4 separate regions of the Homo sapiens genome follow, and regions 1, 2 and 3 are each linked to region 4. The links are contacts of gene promoters, found by promoter capture Hi-C in blood cells and fetal thymus (Javierre and others, 2016). All regions are on one chromosome and are shown on one strand. The core of a region is centred on a gene start or on the middle of the fragment in contact, and the rest is flanking DNA. Distances in the headings are between cores, read along the strand shown. Region 1 has its middle 130 kb from the start of DDHD1-DT. Region 2 overlaps DDHD1 (DDHD domain containing 1). Region 3 overlaps DDHD1 (DDHD domain containing 1). Region 4 holds the start of GNPNAT1 (glucosamine-phosphate N-acetyltransferase 1).

Region 1 (6,585 bases), core at 1,710-4,209, 490 kb before region 4:
GTACAGAACTTCCATGCCCTTTCTGGGGCACCGCCCTCCAGGAACCTCCTCATGTTCAGTTATCAGGAAGCTCCCCCGATTCAGTTTCTTTTGGAATTTTATAGAGGCTTCATTTAATAGACTTGATTGACTAAATTATTGGCCATTGGTGATCAACTTAACCTGCAGCCCCTTTCCTCTCCCTGAGGGTTGGGAGATGAGGCAAATGTTCCAATCCTCTAATCATGCCTTGGTCCTTCTGGTGACCAGCCCCCATCCTAAAACTACCTAGGGACTTCCAGTCATCAGTCTATGCACGGGGATACAAAAAGACACACCACTTTGGAGATTCCAAGGATTTTAGGAGTTGTATGCCAGGAAATAAGGATGAAAACCTAATACTGTATTTATTTCTTGTTATAAATCACAATATCACAGGTGCCAAGGCCATTCTATAGGGAAAGGACAGTCTTTTCAGCACATGGTAGTAGGAAAACTGGATATCCTCATGCAAAATAATGAAGTTGAACCCTTACCAAACACCGTACAGAAAACTTAACTCAAAATGAATCAAATACCTAAATGTGAGACCTAAAACTATGATGTTCTTAGAAGAAGACATAAGGAAAAGCTTTACATTAGATTTGACAATAATTTATCGGATATGGCACCAAAGGCACAGGCAACAGAAGAAAAAATAGATAAATTTAACTTCATGAAAATTGAAAAATGTTTAAGCATCAAAAACATTGTCAGAGTAAAAAGGGAACTCACGGAAAGGGAGAAAATATTTGCAAATTCTATATCTGACAAGGGATTAATATCCAGTGTATAGAGAACTCCTAAAACTCAACAACAAAAACAATTCAAAAATGGATGAGGGATTTGAGCAGACATTTATTCAAAGAAGTTACACAAATGGCCAATAAGCATATAAGATGCTCAATACCACTTATCTTTAGGGAAATGCAAATTAAAACTAAAGTGAGATGCCACCTCACACTCATTAAAATGGCTACTCTAAAAAAAAAGAATAGCAAGTGTTGGCAAGGATGTGGAATAATCAGCACTTTGGTGCACTATTGGTGGAAATGTAAAATAGTGGAGCCTCTGTGGAAAACAAATGGCAATTCCTCAGAAATTTAAAAAGAATTACCATATATTCAGCAGTTCCTTTTCTGGATATATATCCCCAAAAGATTTGAAAGCAGAACTCCAACATGTATTTGTGCACTCATGTTGATAGCAGCATTATTCACAATAGCTAAAACATGGCAATAACCCAAGTGTTCATTGATGAATGAATGGATAAGCAAAACGTGGTATGTACATACAATGAAATACTATTCCGGCTTAAAAAGGGAGAAAATTCTGACATATGCTATAACATGGATGAAACCTGAGCTAAGGGAAATAAGCAAGTCACAAAAAGAAAAGTATTGCATGGTTCCATTTAGTGTTCTTAGAGTAGTTAAAATCATAGAGGCAGAAAGTAGAAGGGTGGTTACCGGGGTAATGGGGATTTACTGGAAACAATTTAATGGATTGGATGAATGTTTAATGGATATAATTTCAGCCTTACACGCTGATAAGAGTTCCAAAGATAGTGGTGATAGTTGCACAACGTTATAAATGTATTTAATACCACTGAATTGTACACTTTAAAATAGTTAAGATGGTAAATTTAATGTTATGTGTATTTCACCACTTTTTTTTAAATAAGGGGAAACAACTAAACATGCAACTACCACTTGACCCAGCATTAACTGCTGGGCATTTATCCCAGAAAATTGAAAATCTGTTCACATAAAAACCTGTACACAAATGTTTATAGCTTTATTCTTCATAGTCTCAAACTGAAAACAAAACAATCATGGTATAGCCATACCATGGAATACTACCCATCACTAGAAAGGAACAAACTTTTGATATGTGAAACAACCTGGATGAATCTCCAGAGAAATACACTGAGTGAAAAAAGGCCAATATCAAAAGGTACACATACCATATGATTACATTTACGTAACATTCCTGAAATGATAAAATTCTAGAAATGGAGGACAGATTTGTGGTTGCCAGTGGTTAAAGAATGGATGGGGCAAGAGGAAGGTAAGTGTGGCTGTAAAAGAGCAACATGAGGAATCCTTTTAGTGATAGAAATGTTCTATATCTTCACCATATTAATGTCAACATCCTGGTTGTAATCATTGCTCTATAATTTTGCAATTGGAAACTGGGAGAACTACTGGGAGAAACTGGGCTAAGAGTACAAGCGATCTCTGTATTATTTCTTACAATTGCATGTGAACATACAATTACCTGAAAATTAAAAGCCTAATTAATAATAATAATACTGTATTGTTTATGGATATGCAGAAGCCATATTGTTTTGCAGTACACGCATATGTACACCAAGATAAAAGATAAAAATACGCATAGGAATGCAGAAAATGAAATTTAACATAGTGGCTACCTCTAGGAAGAGAACAGAGGAAAAAATTACACAGGAGTTTCAGTTATAAACGTAATGTTTTATTTCATTATAATAAAAATCTAAAGTCACTATGATAAAATATTAAGATTTGACTAAGCCAGAAGATAAGTAGAAAGATATTCATTATATTATTCTCTCTAGTACTCTGTATTCTAGTGGTATACCAAGGATGGGGCCATGGGATTAGTCTGCCATGAGTATAGTCAACAAAGGGCTGTATTTTTTTGTACAGAAGTTTAAAACAATGGTAAAACAAACTAGAAGTTGGCCTGTTTTGTAATATCCCCTTGAGCTGGCAATTTTAATATCAGTGATAAAAGATTTTTCCCAGCTGTGCAAACAACTTCCACCAGTCCCAGTCCTTAACTGGTAAGCAAATTGCTGTATCCTTAAAATATTTCCTAATTTGTACAGATTCAGCCCATTAATATAAATATTCTTTATAAATACTAGTACACAATGATATCCATAAGGATCATTTTGAAATATGTTAATATCTCAAATTATCAAAGGAAGTACCTAGCATTATTACAATCTACTAAATAAATCAGGGGAAAGATATATTTTAGAAAAAATGTCTTACAATTATGGTTGACATTAAAAGCATCTGCAGTTTACCCCTCAGTTTAACTAGAAATACTGCAGTATACCACAAAGTTTTAATCACTCTAGTAAATCATGATGTTGTAATGACAGTGTGAGATTATATATTATGCAAGATTCGATTGCAAAGGCATCATAGATGGATGGCAAAAGTAGAAAGCCCTTAAAGAAAAACCCTTGAGTTACTCCGCCCTTATGAATGAATACATAAGGCTCCTATAAAAGGGCTTGGAGGGAGTTTGTCTTTTATTGCCCTTCCACATTCCACCACGTGAGGACACAATGTTCCTTTTCTCCAGAGGATGAAGCATCAATGTGCCATCCTGGAAGCAGAGAGCAGCCCTCACGAGACATGGAACCTGCCAGCACCTTGATCTTGGACTTCCCAGCCTCCAGAACTATAAGAAAATAATTTTTTTTTCTTTATAAATTACCCAGTCTCTGGTATTTTGTTAGAGCAACACAAAACAGACTAAGACAAGTCCTCTATTTACATAATTCCATGGTCACTCAAGTTTGAGATTCTGAAACAATAGGAACATCTGGATATCTGGGCCTACAAACCAATTTTCCATAAACATAACCATCAAACCCTTTGCTAGAATAAGGGGTGGGGAATGCTGCAAAGATTCTCAAACTTAAGCATACATCAAAATCACCCAAAGAGCTTTGTTAAAAAAACAAACAAACAAACAAAAAAAAAAACCTTTATCCAAATTAAATTTAAAGGAGTTACTTGAGCAAAGAACCAATTGTGAATCAGGCAGTCTCCTGAGCCAGAGTAGGCTCAGAGACTCCAGCGCAGCCACATAGTGGAAGACAGAAAAAGGAAAGTTAAATACAGAAAATAGAAGTGAGGTACAGAAACAGTCAGAAACTGTACCCACCAAGTTACAGAAACTGTAACCACCAAGCTGGTTACAGCTTGGTGTTTGCCTTATTTGAACATGGTTTGAGCAGTTGGCCACATTTGATTGGCCAAAACTCAGTGGTTGGCACGAGAGTAGGGTACGGTGGGTTTACAATTCCATTTAGGTTACAGTTCACGATGTCTAGAGAAGCCTTTAAACTGAACTTAAACTATGTAAGGAGGCAGCTTTAGGCTAAACTTGATTTAACAGCTTGTTAAAACCAGATTCTTAGAATCCACCACCATAGACCCTGATTCAATAAGCCTAAAAATTTGCATTTTGAATAACCTCTCAGATGATACTGATAATTTTTTTTTTTTTTTTTTTGAGACAGAGTCTTGCTCTGTCACCCAGGCTGGAGTGCAGTGGTGCAATCTCGGCTCACTGCAAGCTCCGCCTCCTGGGTTCAAGCCGATTCTCCTGCCTCAGCCTCCCGAGTAGCTGGGATTACAGGCACGTGCTGCCACACCTGGCTAATTTTTGTATTTTTAGTAGAGACAGGGTTTCACCATGTTGGCCAGGCTGGTCTCAAACTCCTGACCTCAGGTGATCCACCAACCTTGGCCTGCCAAAGTGCTGGGATTACAGGCATGAGCCAGTACACCCGGCCACCCTCATTACTTTTGTCCTTATGTTACCTTTGGAATCTAACCCTGGAATAGTATTAGGTTCTAAAGTTGAAGTAAGTGCCCAGAAGATGCCAGACCACAACAGGACCATTACCATACATTGAGTAAAAAAAATAAATTATATAGTATATAATAACATAGAACCATGTAGTTTATCACCCTGAATAGTTTAAGGTTCCTGCCTTTCAGAAAATTCAGGGAGCTTCCTGTATCTTCTCTCTACTAGATATATGTGAACTTAAGAAATTATTTGGTAAAGAAGGAATTTACAGAAACAATTGATTGCCAATTCAACTGCCTGGGACTGTTTTTACAATAAGACTAAGAATTGGGCTTTTTATTAGCTGCTTGAGTACTTGAGTGACTTAAGGGAAAAATTTAATGGTGGCATTACATTTGATAGGATGCAAACAATTAAGCATTATACTTGACACACCAAAGCCACTTTGCTAACAACATATCAAAATAATTGGATCATGCCTTTAAAAATGAAAGAGGAAACTTACATCAGGAAAGCAGTAACATTTTGATCTTGAACACAAAGACAGTGTTTTGTCCACTATCTAGTGAAAGACAGTTATTGCTGTAGAATTTTCTTGCCAAATCAATGACTTTCCTCCAAAATCAAGCACCATAACTGCAGCATTAGAAACATACATTTTCTTTTCCATTAATAGTGATACTTAAGCTTACGTGTAAGGAAGAAGGTATTATTTGGCAAAAAGAGGTGACTCTTGAAATTTTAGCTTAAAATGTTAGATTTCAGAAAACTAATTTATATTAAATGTAAAGAGAAGAGCTGAAGAAAACAAAGATTGCTTTAAATGGAGGATTTCATAACTAGAATTTAACTTTTGAACAATTCTAAATGTGGGGTACCCTCCCTAAATGCAAGGACAGCATTTTCCAAAATATTTTTCAAAAATTCCATTTAAAGATCTGTAATATTCAAATCTAAAGAGTTTTCTGTTTATTTTATACAACTGAAATGTATAAACATAATAGAAGATATTAAGAAATATAAATTATGTGATCTTGAATAGAAATTATATTCCATCTTTTGTGTTTCCTTTTCTATAAACCTAAGCAATTTTACAAGGTAAACCTAAATTATCAACACTAAACTACTTACTGGCAGATCGAACATTTTTCTGACTTTATATTAGTGAAAAACATTCACTCAATGAATATTTACTGGGCAAATACTATATATAAGTGAGGGGTTTAAAAAATGATATAGCTGGGCACGGTGGCTCACGTCTGTAATCCCAGTACTTTGGGAGGTCAAGGTGGGCGGATCACCTGAGGTCAGGAGTTTGAGACCACCCTGGCCAACGTGGTGAAACCCCGATTCTACTAAAAATACAAAAATTAGCTGGGCATGATGGCAGGCACCTGTAATCCCAACAACATGGAAGGTTGAGGCAGGAGAATCGCTTGAACCAGGGAGGTGGGGATTGCAGTGAGCCCAATCATGGCACTGCACTCCAGCCTGGGCAACAGAGCAAACCTCCATCTCAAGCAAACAAAAACAAAACAAAACAAAAAAATAATATAAACTGTGCCCTAAAGGAAAAAGCAAATTGCTTTAAATACAAGTTTTCATAACTGGAATTTAATATATGAACTATTATAAATATAAGATACCCTCCCTACATGTAAAAGAAAGGGTCTAGTAGGCATTTCCCAAAGTACTTGGGGAATTTCATGGCCAGTAGGTTTTGTAAATACTGATTCTCATTCAAAGAGTCATAGGTAATTCTAATATATGATCACAAGTGTCAAGGACCGTAAAAAACACAAAATATGACCTAGTATTGACCTCCTTATCTGCCTCACCCTCATCCCAATAATCCATCACTAATTCTTATGCCTTCTACTCATAAGACATATCTCCAATTAGTTTTTTAAAAAATATCACGCAAAATAACCAAAGGATTGATGTATATTGTCAATATAGTCAATATAC
Region 2 (6,425 bases), core at 3,061-5,560, 270 kb before region 4:
CAGCTACTTGGGAGGCTGAGGCAGGAGAATGGCGTGAACCCAGGAGGCAGAGCTTGCAGTGAGTTGAGATCACGCCACTGCACTGCAGCCTGGGTGACAGAGCGAGATTCCATCTCTAAAAAAAAAAAAAAAGAGGCTAGACATGGTGGCTCATGCTGGTAATCCCAGCACTTTGGGAGGCCGAGACGGGCAGATCACTTGAGGCTGGTAGTTCAGACCAGCCTGGCCAACATGGCAAAACTCCATCTCTACTAAAAATAGAAAAATTAGCCAGGCATGGTGACAGGCACCTGTAGTCCCAGCTACTGGTGAGGGTAAGGCAGAAGAATCTCTTGAACCCAGGAGACGGAGGTTGCAGTTAGTCGAGGTCACGCCATTGCACTCCAGCCTGGGCCACAGAGGGAGAGCCCATCTCATTTAAAAAAAAAAAAAAAAGAAAAGGAATAGTTTCCCGGATCTCCCAGAGATTCTCATTTGGTGGTTCTGAGATGGAGCCTGTGATTTTGTATTTTTAACAGTTCCCCTACTTGATACTATCCTGGGAATTCTGGGAAAACACTGCTTAAGGCATGGTGAAGAACAAAAGGGGTGCTTCCTAAGTGAGAGGTGGGCAAACTTTTTTTTTTTTTTTTTGAGACAGGTTCTTACGGAGGCAGGAGTGCAGTGGTACGATCTCAGCTCACTGCAGCCTCTGTCTTCTGGGCTCAAGTGATTCTTGTGCCTTAGGCTCCTGAGTAGCTGGGACTACGGGCACGAGCCAATACACCTGGCCAATTTTTGTGTTTTTAGTAGAGACAGGGTTTCACCATGTTGCCCAGGCTGGTCTTGAACTCCTGACTTCAAGTGATCCTCCCACCTCGGCCTTCCAAAGTGCTGGGATTACAGGCGTGAGCCACTGTGCCCGGCCTATTCCTATTTTTAAAAAAGAAAAGTTGATTCTGTAAATTAAAATACATTAACATGGCATTGGTGTTAGGCAATATTCTAGGATAAATTATTTAAAAGTATATGTTTCCTTAGGGAAGGAATGATTAGGACTAAGTCACATGCCTGGTGAATGAACCTTGTTTGGTTTATTTGTGAGGCATTTGAAAGAGCCTTTTTCCCCCTTCTTCTCTGAGCCTTTGTAGTCAAATAGATGCAGATTCAAAGCCTGCCACTTCTGTAATCCCAGCACTTTGGGAGGCCAAGGCAGGCAGATCACTTGAGGTCAGGAATTCGAGACCAGCCCAACCAACATGGTGAAACCCCGTCTCTACTAAAAATTCAAAAATTAGCCAGGCGTGGTGGTGCACACCTGTAATCCCAGCTACTCAGGAGGCTGAGGCAGGAGAAGCACTTGAACCTGGGAGGCAGAGGTTGCGGTGAGCTGAGATCACGCCACCACACTCCAGCCTGGGCAACAGAACGAAATTCCATCTAAAAAAACAAAAATAACAACAACAACAGAAACCTGCCACTTAACCAGCTCTGTGATCTTAGATCGAATTTCTCACTTTCTTAGCTTCCCCACTTATAAAATGGGATAAAATATGTACTGATAAAATTTGTCATTAGGATTAAAAATGAAATGTGTATAAAGTTTCCGGTACAATTCATGGTCCTTAGACATTCAAATTATGATTGATTCTGTGTATATTTATGTCTTACAAGGGCCACCATATTTTTAATAGACTTATTCTGTTAACTCTAAAAAGTAAAGGTCAGTGGATAGAAAATATGGGAAGGAACATGTTTGTTGACTGTAATGAACTTTGTAGTAACAAAGCTGTCTCTAAAGATAGAAGTGGACACTTTAAAATGGAGATATGCACTAAGGTAGAGACTGAGTGACCACTTCTCAGGGATGCTACTGAAGGGACTCCTACCTTCACAGCAGTTTAAATTAGATCATTGCTGAGGTCCCTTTTAACTCTCAGATTCTTACATGCTCATGGGAGAACCCTAATGATTTTCCTAATAATTTCTGAAAAGTCATGGTTAGGGGAAAAGTTGTGTATATCAATCAGTACTTCTCAGATGACTTTCTGAGGACCAGTTTAAAAAATCAACCAAAAAAGTTAATTTCAGACTATCAAGAGATCATCAGAGAGCCTTTGGCCCTTACTTCAACTCTAAAGTAACACAAGAAATCCAGAGAGACCTGTACATCTTGTGTAAATCTGAACTCTCTTTTTAATAGCTTTTAAAATTGAAGAATTGTAAAGAGAATTGTCCTAGCTGTATCTTGACATTATTTGAATTATTTAATTGATATAGATGACTAGAACTCTCTCAATTACATTTTCTCATTACAATTTCTTGAAGCAGGGAGAACAAAGGACTAACTCTATTCCTCAGCCATATTTTGTGTATTTGGACTCAACTCTTGAAACTGCCGGGTTTTTCCTCCTTACGTTCATTTCCTTCGTAAATTTTAACTCTTGAGCAGTGGTTATGGAAATTAGAAATTGTTTTAAACTTTTGAAAAGCTATCCAGTGCTTACTGTGTAAGAGGTTCGTTGAGTTGATTAGATCATATTGTAGACCTAATAGATAATAAAGTTAAGATCACAGTATATATTGTTAATCTTGGCTGAGATGTCCCAAATGAATACACTTGGTCACAAAGGGATCCTAATTAGGAGAATATAATTGGATCAGAAAGGAGAAGGAAAAGGAAAAAAAATTCCAATTAGAGTAAACTCGTTGGATACAACATAGAAATGAATTTCTCCTTTCACTGATGAGCGGATGAGATACAGAAGCATTTAGAGGTAGTACAAAGCTGTTTAAAAAGTTGGCTTTCAAAATCATAATGTCTGACCATAGATGTCTCATATATATGCATAAGCAATAGAAAAAGAAAATGCTGTCAAATCCAGATATGCTCTAATAAGGAAATACAAAGGCCATTTCTCTTCAAGTGTATAATTATTAAAACAGATGACATCATCAAGGTCTTCAGAAACTGTCCATGCTATGCCTCATTCCATAGTGAAATATTTTAGTATCAAATAGACTTTCTCTGCCTTAGATAATTTGATCTTGTTTTTTTACCCATATATGATTGCCAAACTAATGAAGTATTTGGTGTAGTGAGAGATGTTTTAAAATTTTTGAATATGAAATAGGTTAATTACTGGTAGTGTGATTTCCTTTTTTAACAAACTTTAATATGGGAGTAAGCTGGTATTTTATAAAAACAAAAAGATTAGGTATGTTTTGTCAGAGTACTAAAGTATATATCTTTTAGTGCTTTGAGATTTACATGGTACAAGTCTTAAAATCAAGGTCTTCAAAAATAAAAACGATTAAGAACTGTTGCTTTTAAAGGAAATTATTTTATCTAAACATTAGCCTTCTCTGTACCTACCTCATGTAGATTGTAAATCAGGAAAATAATGAAATTTTAAGGATTGGTTGATATTCTTATCAAAGCCAAATCCAAAGCATATTATAGCTCCTTTCAGACAGAGCCATGTAGTATTTCACACTGCATATTCCTGAAACTATGTTAATTAGAGTTTTACTTAAAACCCATGTCTTAGAAGATGTTTATGTACATTGCCATTAAATCAGTAGTTTGTAAAGTGTAGGAAGAAAGAAGACTGCCTTAAAACTCAGATCAGGGCCCAGGATGGGTTTGAGTAACAAAAGAACCTTATTCTTCTGACTTTATGGAATATTTCAGTAATATTTGTTAAAGCTTAATTTCAAAGAAAGCACTTTTACAAAGAAAAATTACGAAAATACTCCCCACATTATTAACCTCTAAACTTAAAATAGCCCTGCTTTCCAGACATAGAAAACAACTTTTTACTTTTATATCTGTATTGCCAACTTAGTGGGAACTTTGAAATACCCAGTAGATCAACTTTTGTTTTTTCTTCAATCATTCAGTGGCCTTTTATTACATTACTCTATCTAAATGCACAATAATTTATAATATGTTAGTATACCTATTATCATAAGCCCAGATACTCATTTTCTAAAACTTACTGACTAAAAACTACAAGGTACAAAAATTTAGAATTGCATGTGGGTAAGTTACAACAAAAAAGAAATTTGCGGGGGTCTTTGAAAATCTTATTGGTATTTGCATAGAACTTTGGTTTTTTTTTTTTTTAATCTATGGAACTGCTGGCTTATACAGTTGGTTTAAGGACTACAGAAGGATCTATGTAGGTAGTATCTGCCTATGTTCTTAGTGATGATATGGATTATAATAGTATGTATACCTTACTTCATTCCTGCAAGATTTTGAAAGACCTAAGTTAATTTTAATAACCTAGGTATATTTGATCGGTAATGTATGTTTTTCTACCTTAATGTATTTGAGTTTAGAATAAGTGTATAGTAGTCAGTGACAAGTCTAATATGATAATGTTTTCTTATTTCAAACAGCTAGTTAAAGGCCTTCAGCAAGAGCTGAATCGATTGTATTCCCTTTTCTGTTCTCGGAATCCAGACTTTGAAGAAAAAGGGGGTAAAGTCTCAATAGTATCACATTCCTTGGGATGTGTAATTACTTATGACATAATGACTGGCTGGAATCCAGTTCGGCTGTATGAACAGTTGCTGCAAAAGGAAGAAGAGTTGCCTGATGAACGATGGATGAGCTATGAAGAACGACATCTTCTTGATGAACTCTATATAACTAAACGACGGTAAAATATCCTCATCTTTTGAAAAATTTTTAAATGTCTTTATGGAATTACTGGACCTCTTACGAGAAAACTAAGAATTTCATGATAAAGAAATAATGCATTGTTCAAGATACAAAGATTACTATATAGCATGCCTAATCAAGCTGGAGACTGTTGATTTTCATGCTAATTACATGCATTTTCCTGTAGCATAAAATAAATTCTTTTGTTATTCTCCTTGTTTTCCTTTCATCGTTTCTTCACAGTTTGTTAGGAGTGAAATTTAAAACTTATTCCAAGCTTAGTCACTGCATAGAATCCTTATTGAAAATGTTTACCAGTTTATAATCCTTTGTAGTTTTACTGACCTTTTGAGGTGGGTTTCTACCTTTCTTATTATTCTGAAAATAATTTTTAAGTGCTTTTTTTAAGCAAATATATTTTTTTACATGTTATATGTATAAACATAATTATATGTGTTATATAATTATAAGATTTTATTATTTAATCATTTGTGGCCCTCCTGATACTATCTTTTAATTCTTTGCTGCATTCCTATCTTCATCTCTAGTTACATGCCTTATCTTCTTTGTTCTCTTTATATGATTAATTCTAATATAAAAATGAAAAATCACTCATTTTGATAATTTACTAGCATATTAAAACAAATGTGCTAATTGACTAAAATTTTTACTAGTTTTGTTTTTGTCTTACAGATGTTAACTAAGGATTTCATTTAGAATCTTATTAAGTACCATAGGCTAGACACACAAATATTATAGTGTCAAAATAATTGACAGGTTTGAAATAAAATGTCATGTTTGGCAATACTCGGAGCAGCATTTTAGATGTATAAATCCAGTAAAACTTTAAAAAAAGAAAAAAAAAGCATGGAAAATAACAAATTTTTTTTTTTTTTTTTTTTTTTGGAGACGGAGTCTTGCTCTGTTGCCCAGGCTGGAGTGCAGTGGCACGGTCTCAGCTCACTACAACCTCTTGTCTTCCAGGTTCAAGTGATTCTCCTGCCCCTGTCTCCCCAGTAGCTGGGATTACAGGCAACTGCTACCACGCCCGGCTCATTTTTGTATTTTTAGTAGAGATGAGATTTCACCATGTTGGCCAGGCTGGTCTTGAACTCCTGACCTTAAGTGATCCACCCACCTGAGCCTCCCAAAGTGCTGGGATTCCAGACATAAGCTACTGCGCCTGGCCAACTATAGCTTTTAAAAAATAATAATGATAATAATAACTTAATTCCATAGTTTACTAAATGTAAGTAGCTATGAAACATTGTAATTGAAAATGATGTTCATCAACAGAAGGGTTAGACTATATGGTTCACCTGTATTTTGGACAGTCATAGTTGTTACAAAAAAAAAATTGAAGTAGGTCAGGAGGCAATGAAATGAAAAGATCTCTAAACTCTTAAGTATAGAAAAGAGAGAACAGTATATATGGTATTAACCATTTGGTATAATTTTTTAAAAGATGTATATGTGCTTGTATATGACTCACATTTTACTACAAAAAAGCTGTTAACAGCAGGTATCATGACAACTAGCGGTACTTTACTAATTATTTCATAAATTTTTATATACTTTCTGTACTGTGGCAGAGACATTTATTAAATACTGTCAACCAGGATTAATGTGAGGGATAGTGGGCCATCATCTGCGTCTTTATACTTTAGTAAGCTAGCAAGCATCTAATATTTATGAAATTATAAATACGTGTGTGTATATAATCTCATACCCCTTCTTAGGCTGAAGGAAATAGAAGAACGGCTTCACGGATTGA
Region 3 (7,169 bases), core at 1,032-3,531, 290 kb before region 4:
GCTATGCCCTGCCCCCAGAGGTGGAGTCTACAGAGGCGTGCGGGCCTCATTGAGCTGCAGTGGGCTCCACCCAGTTTGAGCTTCCCAGCCACTTTATTTACCTACTCAAGCCTCAGCAATGGCAGATGCCCCTTCCCCAGCCAGGCTGCCGCCTAGCAGTTTGATCTCATACTGCTGCACTAGCAATGAGCAAGGCTCTGTGGGTGTGGGACCCGCTGAGCCAGGCGCGGGATATAATCTGGTGTGACATTTGCTCAGACCATTGGAAAAGCACAGTATTTAAGTGGCAGTGTCTCGATTTTCCCATTACAGTCTGTCACGGCTTCCCTTGGCTAGGAAAGGGAAATCCCCAGACCCCTTGCGCCTCCTGGGTGAGGCAATGCCCCACCCTGCTTCGGCTTGCCCTCCATGGGCTGCACCCACTGTCCAACCAGTCCCAGTGAGATGAACCAGGTACCTCAGTTGGAGATGCAGAAATCACCTGTCTTCTGCATCGATCAAGCTGGGAGCTGCAGACCAGAGCTGTTCCTATTTGACCATCTTGGAAAAGACCTCACAATTCAACTTTTTAAAGAAAAAACCTTGTCACATAGTGCCAGGCCAACCTTGATCCTTTTCAATGTCCATAGCTTATATTACAGAAATCTCTTCACTCTGATCCTGATTTTACTCTCTGATGAATTATGTATTACTTCCCGTGATGTTTATATTTATATGTTAGTATGCAGATATTTTGCTTGAATATCTAGGAACCTGAGAACTAGGTTTACTTGTATATTCTCTCTGGAGCCATTGATAAATAAGAAGGTATCAGTTTGATTCCTTTGAGTACAGGTGAGGGAAATCCTAACCCAAAAAGGCTTAAGCCAAAAGCAGGATTTAGTAAATCATAAAACTGAGGAGTCTAGGAGTCATATTGCCAAGCAAGTCATCAAAATCCAGTTTTATCTGCTCTATAGCCTTCATTTTGGAGCCATTATCACACATCTCCTTTGATTCCAAATGTGATTTATATAATCTTGTGTTCAAATTCAAGAAGAATAAGTCCTTTTTTCCAAAAGTCCCAGCTAGTCTGTGCATTAGCTAGTGACTAATGATGTTGATCCAACTTCCTGAATCTATGTATGTAGCCAAGCAGGGTATGATTGGCTAAACTTGTCATATTCCCAACCTAGAATCAGATGGAAGTTGACTTCATCTTAACTATAGGAAGAGCTAGATTCACAGATAAAAATCAAGAGCTATTATTGGAAGCAGGATGAATGAATCCAAGGTGGCTCAAAAAAAAACCCAAGTGTCCACTACAAGGAGCATTGCTATCATTTCTTCGTAGACAGGTTAATTTGATGGAAAATTCTACACATAACTTAGTAATCAATGGAAAATATTCATATAAAAAGGAATTCTGCATAATAAAAGAGAGAAAGATGGGAAAATCCATAGGATTTCTTACCATTTCCCTGCTTGCTGTCATTCCTAAGTTCAGTGTTCGGGCCTATACAAAACTTCATCCTTATCAGTGCCATCCTGAAGCTTGTGTGTACTTGTGATTGATTTGACAGCCTTTTGTTCTCTGAGGATTTCTTTAAATCATGTCTTAGATTCCTGGGAATAGAGAGTTTTCCCTCTTAACCTTATTTTAGCAAACTTGCTAATGATTAGTTCAGACTAGCTTCAATCACCTTTGTTCCAGAAAAATATGTTTACCGCTTACATAGACTGAGAAGCAAATTTTTAGACAACTTCTGGGAATGTCAGAATTAGTTTACTAAAAGGGATAAATGGAAGGCATTTTAAATACAATTGAATTTACTTTTTGTGGAGTTTAATTACAAGGGAACTCTTCATAGAACTTGGCATATCTAATACCCTAAATTAGTCATTTTAAAGCTATAATCTTAGAAGACTATAAAGAGGTTTTCAGTTAAACACAGTATGTTGAACACATGAGCTTATCTTATTCCCTCCTGAAACCTTTTTGAACATGATATAAAAAAGAATTTTAAAAAGCAAAAAGGCATAAACCCGTAAGTACAGAAAAAAAATGGGAGAATAAACAATAGTGACAAGAATATCAACGAAACTTATTTTTTTGAACAGGACATACATGTAGTTCACAAAACAAAATATTAAAATATGGAGTAAAAAGGCTGATTCTCATTTCTCTCCCCGTCTTCCCTCATTATCCTTTGTCCTTGTGTCCCCATTTAGAGTCTTCTAGATTTTCTTTAGGCATACACAAATTTTTTTCCACACAAAAGGTGCATGCTATAGACTTCTGGACCTTGTTTTTTTGTTTGTTTGTTTGTTTAAAAAATGTATTTTGGATTGCTTGAGCCCAAGAGTTCAAGACTGTGGTGTGCTATGATCCTACCTGTGAGTTGCCAGTGCACTGCAGCATTGGACAATGAAGCAAGACCCCATGTCTTTTTTTTTTTTTTTTTGAGATAGAGTCTCACTCTGTCGCCCAAGCTGGAGTGTGGTGGCATGATCTTGGCTCACTGCAGCCTCCGCCTCCTGGGTTGAAGAAATTCTCCTATCTCAGCCTTCCTAGTAGCTGGAACTACAGTCACACGTCACCACACCCGGCTAATTTTTGTATTTTTAGTAGAGACAGGGCTTCACCATATTGGTCAGGCTGGTCTCGAACTCCTGACCTCAGGTGATCCACCCACCTCAGCTTCCCAATGTGCTGGGATCACAGGCGTGAGCCACCATGCCCGGCCAACCTCATCTCTTAAAAAAAAAAAAAAAAAAAAAGGTATCTTGGAGATCACTGTTCATGATTTTCTATTTATATCTTTTTCTATTTTTTTCTATATTTATGTCACACATATATTTTCTTAAAACCAATTAGTTTACCAATTTTTTTCTAATTGAGAGGAATTATGAAGACTTATGTTTTACAGCTATTTAATGATCCTCAGTTGTACAGTAATTCTTAAATGCTATTAATCTCTATCTTCTCTTCTTACAATATGAAGTAAACATTCATTGCTCAGAGAACATGGAAATTGAAATAAGCTTATAACAGGACTGAAATCATGATTTTTGTGCATGCATAGCAGCACAGTAATGGGTCATTGTCTGAGGTATAGTATAATATTGTTTAATCATTCCTTTTTCTCATTTTCTCTATCTCCCATTGGTCTCAGTAGTTCTTATGAGATATTTAAGAAATAGATTTTACTGTTTTTAGTAAGGCAAATTTGGGCGTATAGCCAGAACATATCCAACTTCTCTCTTCCCTCTCCCTGTCTCCCTCTTCCTCTTTTCCCCATCCCCCTCCTCTCCCTTCTCCTTCCCTCATTATTTTTTCATTTTTCTTCCATCCTTTTCTTTTTTTTCTTAACAGTCACTCCAGTACTCCAAATGATTCAGTAGACATACCTGTTTGATCAGTTTTTAATCATTTGAGAATTATGATAGCGATCCTGTGGAGTGAAGGATTGTGTAAGTTTGCTTTATAACAAAACAACATTTTAAGCAGATGTAGTGTTTCCAAGTTGAGAACTCAAAATTAGGGTTTCCCAGCTACATCACTATTGACATTTTTGACTGGATAATTTTTTGTTATGATGGCTGGCCTGTGCATTGTAAGATGTATAACTGTATCCCTTGCCTCTCCTCACTGATGCAAATAAAACCCTTAGTTGTTAGAACCAAAAATATCTCCAAACATTGCCAAGTGTCCCTCGAAGTACAAAATTGTCTATGGTTGAGAACCACTAATCTAAATGAACTCTTTTGTGTGCAAATTCAAACAGCAGCACATGTACCACTTCCTAATTACTATGCCACAATGATTTACATAAGAACTACACAGCCATCAAAATTGAATGAGTGGGTAGAAAAATATTAGAAATTTTTAAATATGTTCTTCCTTGCATATACTCATATTTGTTAAAACTGAACATTTGAAAAGATGACAAAGAAACTTTAAAAATGTTTATGCGATTACTTATCTGATGTAAAAAAGGAACTTTTAGACTTTGTGGATAATAAAGAAATCCTGCCTTCAAGTCTAAAGTTTTGGCTGTCATTTTATTTTCAGTGATGATAAGGGAAGCACATCTTTATTTTGGCAAAGTAGAATCTAGGCTTCTTAAAATGCGAACTTTGGGGATATGCAGTCAATAAACATAATTATAATGCAATGTCTTTTAAAATATACTGAAAATGAAGATAGACTTCTCAACAAGTACTATTGGGATAACTAGATTTGCATATAGAAAAAAATTAATTGGATCCATTTCTCACACAAGGATAAATTTCAATTGGATCACATTTAAGTGAAAGAAATGAAACCAGGACATGGTAGCACATGCCTATAGTCCTAGCTACATGGGAGGCTGAAGCAGGAGAATCGCTTGAGCCCAGGAGTTTGAGGCTGTAGTGCCCTATAACCACACCTATGAATAGCCACTGCACTTCAGCTGGGGCAACATAGCAAGACCTCATCTCCAAAAAAAAAAAAAAAAAAAAGGGGGAAGGAAAAGAAATGAAATTATACAAGTATTAGGGATTTTTTTAAAGGAGAGTTTGAATTCTTCTAGAACTTAGGAATAGAGAAAATTATTCTATGACTTGATCCACGAGAAATAAGGAAAAATATTGATAAATATATTGTCTAGGAAAAAAAATATATGGCAAAGAAAAATTAAGTTGAACTGAAAGAAACATTTTCAACTTACAGATGAAGGATTCTTAATATGTAAAATCGTTCTAAAAATAAAAATATGTTCAACCACCTTATAGGAAAATGGGCTAAAGATATAAGCAAGTAGTTCCCAGAAAAGGAAATGGCTCTTAACCATGTGAAAAGTCTTTTTTTTTGTTTTTTGGAGAGAGTTTTGCTCTGTCACCCAGACTGTTGTGCAGTGGCATGATCTCAGTTCACTGCAGCCTCCACCTCCTGGGTTCAAGCAATTCTTCTGCCTCAGCCTCCCAAATAGCTGGGACTACAGGTGCACACCACCACACCCAGCTAATTTTATGTTTTTTTAGTAGAGTTGGGATTTCACCATGTTGGCCAGGCTGGTCTCAGACTCCTGACCTCAAGTGATCTGCCTGCCTTGGCCTCCCAAAGTGCTGGGATTACAGGCGTGAGCAATGCACCCAAACAGATGTCATTTCTTAACTATCAGATTAGCAATAGCAAAAGTTCAAAATTTGACAACATGCTTTTTTTGGCCAGGCTGTAGTTAATAGATGTTCTTGTACAGCTGATGGAATGCAATGAAAACGAGTATGTGGCAGTATCTATCAAAATTGCATATGTATTTATCCTTTGACCCAGAAAACCTACTTCCAGGTACTATCCCAAAAAAAATCAGCAAAAAATAAAAGAGGCATGCACAAGGCTTTTGATTGCAGCATCACGTAGGAAACTACTCAAATATTCATCAGTAAGAGATGGCTTGATAAACTACAGCTTTTATTTATATAATGGAGTAGTATGCAGTTGTAAAATAGGGAAGATCTGTATGTATTACTCTGGTTCTTTGAAAAGATCCACAAAGTTGAGAACATTTTAACTAGACCAAACGAGAAAAAGATTCAAATTACTAAAATGAAAAATAAAGGAGGAGACATTACTACCAGCAAACTTACAGAAATAAAAAGGATTGTAAGGGAATACTATGCACAATTCTATGCTACAAAGTATATAACCTAGATTAAATGGACAAATTTCTAGAAGCAAACTACCAAAACTGTTTTAGTAATCACTTTCCAAGACAGACACAAACTAGGAAAACTGATCTGGTAACGAGGAAGAAATAGAAAATCTGAGTAGACCTGTAACAAGTAAAGCAGGAGTTCCAGGCTATAGTACATGTCGGTTCCAGTGACTAGCCACTGCACTTCAGCCTGGGCCACATAGTAAGATCCTGTGTCTTAAAAAAAAAATAGAGAAAAATTAGCACCACTTCTCTACAAACTCTCTAAAAAATGGAAGAGGAAGGAAGATTTCCCAGCTCATTCTATGAAGCCAGTATTACCCCGATACCAAAAACCAATGAAAGCATCATAAGGAAAAGAAAACTATACAAATATTACTGAATAGAGACCACAGAAATGTCAATGAAATGCCAACAAACTTGAATCCAGCACCATATATAAATGGTTATATACCATGACTAAGTGGGATTTATCCAGGAATACAAGATTGGGTCAACATTTTTTTTTTAATCAAGGTAATCCACCACATGTGTAGAATGAAGGAAAAAAAAACACATCATGTGATTTTCAGATACAGAAAAGACATTTGACAAAATCTCAACATACTTTCATAATAAAAGCACTCGGGAAATTAGAAACAGAAGACAACTTTCTCAACCTGGTAAAGGGCATCTACAAAAAGCCTGTGGCTAAACTTATTCTTTAATAGTGAAAGACTGAAACCTGCTCCTTGAGATCAGGAACAAGACAAGGATATCCACTCTCACCACTTCTGTTCAGCATTGTACTGTACGTTTCAGCCAGAGCAATTAAGCAAGAAAAGAAATAAAAGGCATCTAGATTAGTATGGAAGAGATAAAACTATCTCCGTTTGCAAATGACATGACATTATAAGTAGAAAAGTCCTTTTGTTCTTCAAAGGACAGTGAAGAAAATGAAGACAACCCTCAGAATGGGAGAAAATATTAGCAAACCACATATCTGATAAAGGTCTAGGATCCAGGATATATAAAGTACTCTTACAACTCAACAGTTTTTAAAAAAGGAAGACCCCAGTTTTTTTAAATGGGTAAAGGATTTGAGTAGACATTTGTCGAAATAGGATATACAAATGGCCAATAAATCCAGGAAAAGATGTTCAGCATCTTTAGTTATTAGATGTGACCTTGAACGCTACCACTTTAAAGGTACCACTTTATACCCACTAGGATAACTCTTATCAAAAAGATGGAAATTAACAAGTATTAGCTAGGATGAAGAAAAATCACAACCCTTACATGTTTCTTGTGAGATCAGAAAATAGTACAGCTGCTTTGGAAAGAGTTTGGCAGTTCTTCCAAAAGTTAAAGTTAGTGTATGAGCCAGTAATATTGCTTATGTGTATACCCAAGAGATCTGAAAATGTATGTCCACAAAAACTTGTTAAAAGAATGTTCATAGAAGCATTATTCATGATAGCCCAAAAATGGAAGCAACACAAACATCCA
Region 4 (6,336 bases), core at 2,081-4,580:
ATTCTCCTGCCTCAGCCTCCTGAGTAGCTGGGACTACAGGCGTGTGCCACTACGCCCAGCTAATTTTTGCATTTTTAGTAGAGACAGGATTTTACCATGTTGGCCAGGATGGTCTCGATCTCTTGACCTCATGATCCACCCACCTCAGCCTCCCAAAGTGCTGGAATGGTACAGGCGTGAGCCACCGTGCCTGGCCTGTACCATATTTCATCCAATCTTAGACACATCCATTGTATGACACGCCATTAATTTATATACCACTAAGAAAGAAACAATGTGGCTAATTTAAAATTATAATATCTTATCACTTGGAACTTGTAATACCTAGTGAAACAACTCTTCTATACTTAATTAGACATGGATTGTTATATCTAATTCCTGTGCAAACATTAAGAGGAAAATATAAATGAAATAAATTGGCTAAGGTATTCTTTTTTGGGGGGGGATGGAGTCTCGCTGTTGCCCAGGCTGGAGTGCAATGGCACAATCTCGGCTCACTGCAATCTCTGCCTCCCAGGTTTCAAGTGATTCTCCTGTCTCAGCCTCCCGAGTAGCTGGGACTACAGGCATGTGCCAGCACACCAGCTAATTTTTGTATTTTTTCTGAGAGACAGAGTTTCACTATGTTGGCCAGGCTGGTCTTGAACTCCTGACCTCGTGATCTGCCCGCCTTGGCCTCCCAAAGTGCTGGGATTACAGGTGTTAACCATGGTACCCGGCCAAGGTATTCTTAAACTTCTCATTCAGGCCAACGTTCCTGAATCACTTCTCAACTCAATCACTGACATCTATGTTTATCCACGTAATAGCCTTATTTGTGCCAATGAGAATATTGTTGTTGGTCAGACGCGGTGGCTCACACCTGTAATCTTAGCACTTTGGGAGGCCCAGGTGGGTGGATCACAAGGTCAGGAGTTCAAGACCAGCCTGGCCAACATGGTGAAACCCCATCTCTACTAAAAATACAAAAATTAGCTGGGTGTGGTAGTGCGCACCTGTAATTCCAGCTACTCAAGAGGCTGAGGCAGGAGAATTGCTTAATTGGAACCCAGGAGGTGGAGGTTGCAGTGAGCTGAGATCACACCACTGCACTCCAGCCTGGGCTACAGAGTAAGACTCCCTCTCAAAAAAAAAAAAAAAAAAAAAAAAAAAAAAAGAATAATGGTGAATGCAGCATTTCTTCTAAGAATCTAGAAAAATAAATAAAAATCAACCAAAGGACATACCAATGGTTCCATTAAACCAGAAGTTGAGACTGTCTCCTGGTTATCTTGGGCTCCTCATTGCCAAGTGAACCTACAGGCAAAGAAAGGGGTTAACTGTACTGGCCAGAGTAATCGACCTTGTCTATTAAGGAGAAATTGGGTTCTTATGGCCCAATGTGGGTAAGGAGGAGTATATGTGGAAAGTATGAGATCTCTGGGGGTACCTCTTACAAGCCTTGTGTTCTGTGATTTTAGAATTGCTTATGTTTCACTTTTTGCTAATTTATAAAACATACAGCAGTTTGTTGTACAGGATAAACTCACTGAAAACATTTGACCAGAAGTCTGATAAGAAAAACGGGGAGGGCCATATGCTTAAGATTAGTGGTGTGTACATAAGCATTTTTTTAAATTTTTGTTTGTTTTGAGACAGGGTCTTGCTCTGTGGCCCAGACTGGAGTGCAGTCTTGCAATCATGGCTCACAGCAGCCTCTGCCTCCCGGGCTCAGGTTATCCTCCTACCTCAGCCTCCTGAGTAGATGGGACTACAGGCACATGCCACCATGCCTGCCTAATTTTCAGTATTTTTTTTTGTAGAGACAGGTTTTTACCATGTTGCACAGACTGGTCTCAAACTCCTGGGCTCAAGAGATCCACTTGCTTAGGCCTCCCAAAATGTTGGAATTACAGGTGTGAGCCACTACGCCCAGCCATGAGTGTTTATTTTATTTATGCCTTACATATTCTTTTTTTTTTTTTTTTTTTTTTTAGAGACAGGGTCTTGCTCTATTGTCCAGGCTGGATTCAACCTTGTGGGCTCAAGTGATCCTCCTGCCTCAGCCTCTGGAGTAGCTGGGACTACGGATGCATACCACCACATTCTGCTCATGCCCTATATATTCTTTTGTATGTATGGGTGTAAAAACAGAGATAAAAACAGAGATATGGATGCCATCAACTCACTGATGTTTGAAGTTCTGAGAAAGCATAAATCAGTAAAGGAGTTAACTGAAATTTAAATCTCACAAATGAGCAAAAAATATGATTTCTGGTATATGATCTATGGGGTTCTTTGAATACTATTGCTTAAGAATAAAATACTTTGCGATTTCAATAAATTGAAAATTATGGTACAAGGCAAGGAAGGGGAGCTACTAGCTATGAGACTTTTGTAAATTATGTAACATCTCTGAACCTCTGTTTCCTCATCTGTTAAAATAGGGACAAAGTGCTACTTAGGTAAGACACTTCAGAAATGGGGCTCTGAAAAAAGTCACTTTTCTTCTCCTAACGAAAGGTTTCTAAACCTCAGCACTCCAGACATTTCAGGCCAGGTAATTCTTTGTTGTGCGGCGCTGTCCTGCGCACTGTAAGGCGTGAAGCAGTATTCCCGGCCTCTACTCACCTGTGCCCTCCACCATCTGTAGATTCCAATGACATCTCACCCCAGATGAGAGGCTGAAAATGATTCATACATTGCCAAATGTCTCCTGGGAGGCAAAACTGTTGCAGTGGAGAACCGCTGTCCTAACCCCATGTTCATCCAATAAAGGGTTTGAGGGACTGAGAAATGAAACAATAGTCCCGAAGGAGTAGAATGCAGTGGCCCCAACTCCTAGTTTCATGAAGGCAGGAACTGTGACTCAGAGGCCTGGGGATGCGGAGCTCTGAACTGCCAGCTGGTAGGAAAAGTCCTAATTAATGGATTGAATCATGAAGGGAGGGCAACAAGGAACAAATGGAGAGGGCCAGTGGCCGAGCCTTCGGTCTCAGGATCAAAGAGGCCCACACTGGTCACCACTTACGCTGCTGGGCTGACTGCTAGGTAGACGTATCTGCAGATAAACCGAGACAATGACGCGGTGGGAAAGGCCTTGGGGAGCGAGGAGGAGGAGCCGGGAGAGGCCAGCTTTGGTCCGGCGGCCACCGCCCCAGGCGCCGCGACTCGAGCCTCAGGCCCCGCCCCTCGCCCTCCTGGTCCCGCCCCCGCTCTCCGAGCCCCGCCCCTCGCCCTCCTGGTCCCGCCCCCGCTCTCCGGGCCCCGCCCCTCGCTCTCCGGGCCTGGGCGGGTGGCGCCTTGGCCTCCGCCTCCGCTCGCCTGCGCGCGGCCCTGCGTGAGGGGGCAGAGGCGAGGTGGAGGCGTTGGCGCTGCCACGTCTGGGCCGCGGTTCCCAACTGTGGCGCGGGCGGTGGAGGAGGAGGTGGGGCTGGCGCTGAAGCCGGATCCGGATCCGGTGCTGTGCACACTGGTGGGGGAGAGTCCGACGCGCCTGGCTAGGAGCGCCGACCGCAGGGCCTCTACGGGTGAGGAGGGACCGGGGCCGGGGCGCGAGAGCAGGACCGTGTGTCCTGGGGGCTGGGGCGGGCCTGCCCTCAGGTTTATCTAACAGGTGTGTCTGGTGCCCCGGCCAGGCCCCCGGGGGTGTTGTGTGGAGGAGCTGGGCGTTAATCCTCGCCAGCTGGGTGCACATGGTGTGGAGCGCGGTTCCCAGGAAGTTGAACGCACGCGCGCCTGGAGCAGAGGTTAAGGATGATGGCCAGCGGTCCGGCCATACGCTGGTCTTGGCCTGGCAGGGCTGGAACTGGGACTGGGGTCGGAACTTCGCTCCCCAGACTTTGGCGTGGGAAATGAGACAGTTGGTCGCGCTCTCTGCAGCCATCGGTTTTGAATGGGCACGAACGTCCCAGGCCCCTTCTCTTCTCCCATTCCCGGGCGCATCCCACGGTGGTCGGAGCCATTGAGGCAGCTGCTCCGAAGACCACCTCCGCACCGAGTAGGTCGGCGCTTTCCCCAGGGTACAGAGGGACATTCTTTGTCTCTTTTTCCTAGGCTCCTACCCCTAGAAATACCGAGTACTGTACTGTGATTTCTGTTGCGGGAGCTGATGTTTATGTAAGCCAAACTAATTTAAAATTTTCATACAAAATTGAACGGGCGATTATAGGATTCGTTTTGTTAGGATAATCCCTCATGAACGAATCCTAGAATGGATCTTAAGAAATTAATTTAGGCAGGATTTGCTAAATAGGGGAGAGAGCGCTAGCTGTATGGTATGATGATGTAAAGATTGGGGTCTGTTGAGGATGGTAATCGAGCTCAAGATGCGAAAACGAGGATTCTAGCCCCAAGTCACTTACTTGCTGTGTTACCTAAGGGGCAAGTCTTGGGAGTTCCAGGTGCTCCAGCTTCCTCATCGGTAGACTGGGAATAACGCCTAGATTGTAAAGGTCAAACTATCAGAAAATACTTTTGAACATTCATGCAGTTACACAATTTAATAAATATGGCCAGGTGTGTTAAAAATCTTTAACGGAATAGATTCAGAATGGATTCTTGTTATCGAAATTGTTATAAAATGAATATAAAGGAATCCGAAGTCCGCCCCTCCCCCATTCACCTGTACTTAGAAGGTTCCCCAGGAGCTCTTGAGAAATACATAGGCTGGTTTAGATTTGGCCTTAGATTGTATTTTTTAAAATTTGTAGATCGACTTTTAAAATCTTCATCTCCGGTGTCTATTACTTGTTGCTCTCCGTTGGTTGCTTCTAGCAGCAGCCTCTCTCCCCATTCGTATTCCAACCTGATACAGAGGCTCAGACGCCAAATAGTTGAAGTTTTGTTTAAAAAATATTCAATTGAGTGAAAAAATATTCAACTGATGTGATGACTAGTAAAAATGAATTTGGTGTATGCTTTCCGCGATATTGTGGCAGTTTGGGAATTTTTTTTTTTTTTTTTTTTTTTGTCCTTCTGGATTTTCTGAAATGTGACCTACAGGTAAGTCTTATTCGTTATTCATTCACTAGGCATTATTGGGCTAGGGTTAGGCTTAAACGGGTCTTCTAAACGCCTGCTAATTTAGCAGTTAATCAGAAAAGGTTCTGAGGAATACTTAAGGAGGATTAGTGTTTAAAGTTCATCTAAAAACTTTAAAGAACCTAATGATATGATGAGATTCCGCTTCACACAACTGTGCAATTTTATTCGCAGAAATTTCCTAGTTTTGCAATATCTGGGCACCTGAAGATGCTAAAAGATTATTTATATAAAATTACTTATTTAATTATGTTCTAAACCCCCTTGGAACCAGGTTTCAAGTCATATCTTGCTTCACTTTGCCCAGTACCTTAGTTGGGCACCAGCAGAATTTTACGGTTTGAGGACAGAGTGAGCTAAAGTGGGCCTTCAGTATGGCTCTGTTTTGTAGAATAGCTCATAAAAAAATTTTTGATGTTAATTTCTGATTGCCTGGTTAATAGATTCTTATTTCAATCTGTAATGCTTTGTTTAATGTATTTTGACTAGTCTGATTCCCATTTTCCAAATGTAGGTTCTAAGTGCTGCTTATGACTTAATTTTTAACCCTTGTACAACAGTAAGATAGGGAATTTATCTACTCTAGTGCATCTTCAGTGTAATGGTTAAGAGCAGAGTCTGAAGTCATACTACCTAGCAGGACTGGCTACGTAATCTGTGGTAATCCAAATTAAAATGCAGGGTTCCTTGTTAAAAAATTAAGAACTTCAAAACAGTGGCAGCAGGGTATCAAACTTAAGTGCAGGGCCCTGTGTAACGGCACAGGTCAGGGGCTTCTGAAGCTGGCCCTGTTGCCTCATTTTGAATCCTCACTCTGTTCTTATTGGCACTCTAACCTTGAGCAAGTTACTGTGCCTGCTTCCTTATCTGTAAAATTGGGATAATAATGATACATCGTTCATTGTATTTTTAAGAGTTAACATATAGAAAGTTTTCAATAAGTGTTAGCCAATATTATTTATTTTTATGATCATTCGTGGAAAAGGACTGTCTCATCAAAGAAAAGTACAAGAAAATATTAGTATTTCCTGGTTAAAATTCATTATTTAAGGGCTTCATAATCCTAGTTGTTTTCCTGTATACTTCTTCCCTCTCATGAAAATTATTAACCCTATTTTTCATGTTTTCTAGACCACATTTTTATTGTAAACACAGACAACTTTATAGGAAAAAGGAATCTAGTTAAATGTGGTTAAGGTTGATTTAAATTCTCTTTTGAGTTTTCTTTGAACTTTGTATTTACAACTATATGTTTAATAGCAAGACCAAAATGTTTAAATAGTGTGCTGCCTCGAGGAATTTACATTTTTAATA

What was found. Contacts are between HindIII fragments. The CHiCAGO score rates a contact against its expected background, and 5 or more counts as called.
Region 1: a fragment that was not itself captured here is called in contact with the fragment with the promoter of GNPNAT1 in region 4 in 1 of 17 cell types (M2 macrophages); the score reaches 5.1 in M2 macrophages.
Region 2: a fragment that was not itself captured here is called in contact with the fragment with the promoter of GNPNAT1 in region 4 in 2 of 17 cell types (erythroblasts and M2 macrophages); the score reaches 5.8 in erythroblasts.
Region 3: a fragment that was not itself captured here is called in contact with the fragment with the promoter of GNPNAT1 in region 4 in 1 of 17 cell types (M1 macrophages); the score reaches 5.4 in M1 macrophages.

Annotation. Positions count from the first base shown.
Region 1 is chr14:53,282,711-53,289,295 of GRCh38, reverse strand. No RefSeq gene overlaps it. Among named protein-coding and RNA genes, the nearest start is that of DDHD1-DT, 130 kb to the right of the region's middle. The HindIII fragment of the contact is 4,694 bases long and covers 613-5,306 here.
Region 2 is chr14:53,061,167-53,067,591 of GRCh38, reverse strand. It overlaps DDHD1 (DDHD domain containing 1), which reads left to right. Exons shown (of 13, transcript NM_001160148.2): 7 at 4,387-4,649; 8 at 6,391-6,425. Among named protein-coding and RNA genes, the nearest start is that of DDHD1, 89 kb to the left of the region's middle. The HindIII fragment of the contact is 1,240 bases long and covers 3,691-4,930 here.
Region 3 is chr14:53,078,034-53,085,202 of GRCh38, reverse strand. All of the region lies in intron 4 of DDHD1 (DDHD domain containing 1), which reads left to right. Among named protein-coding and RNA genes, the nearest start is that of DDHD1, 72 kb to the left of the region's middle. The HindIII fragment of the contact is 1,491 bases long and covers 1,536-3,026 here.
Region 4 is chr14:52,788,601-52,794,936 of GRCh38, reverse strand. It overlaps GNPNAT1 (glucosamine-phosphate N-acetyltransferase 1), which reads left to right and starts at 3,330. Exons shown (of 6, transcript NM_198066.4): 1 at 3,330-3,509. It overlaps LOC105370500 (a long non-coding RNA gene), which reads right to left and starts at 3,149. Exons shown (of 3, transcript XR_943867.3): 1 at 2,611-3,149. RefSeq lists enhancers at 2,708-3,222, 3,223-3,736, 3,844-3,933, 4,014-4,103 and silencers at 3,134-3,353, 3,454-3,533. The HindIII fragment of the contact is 20,059 bases long and covers 1-6,336 here.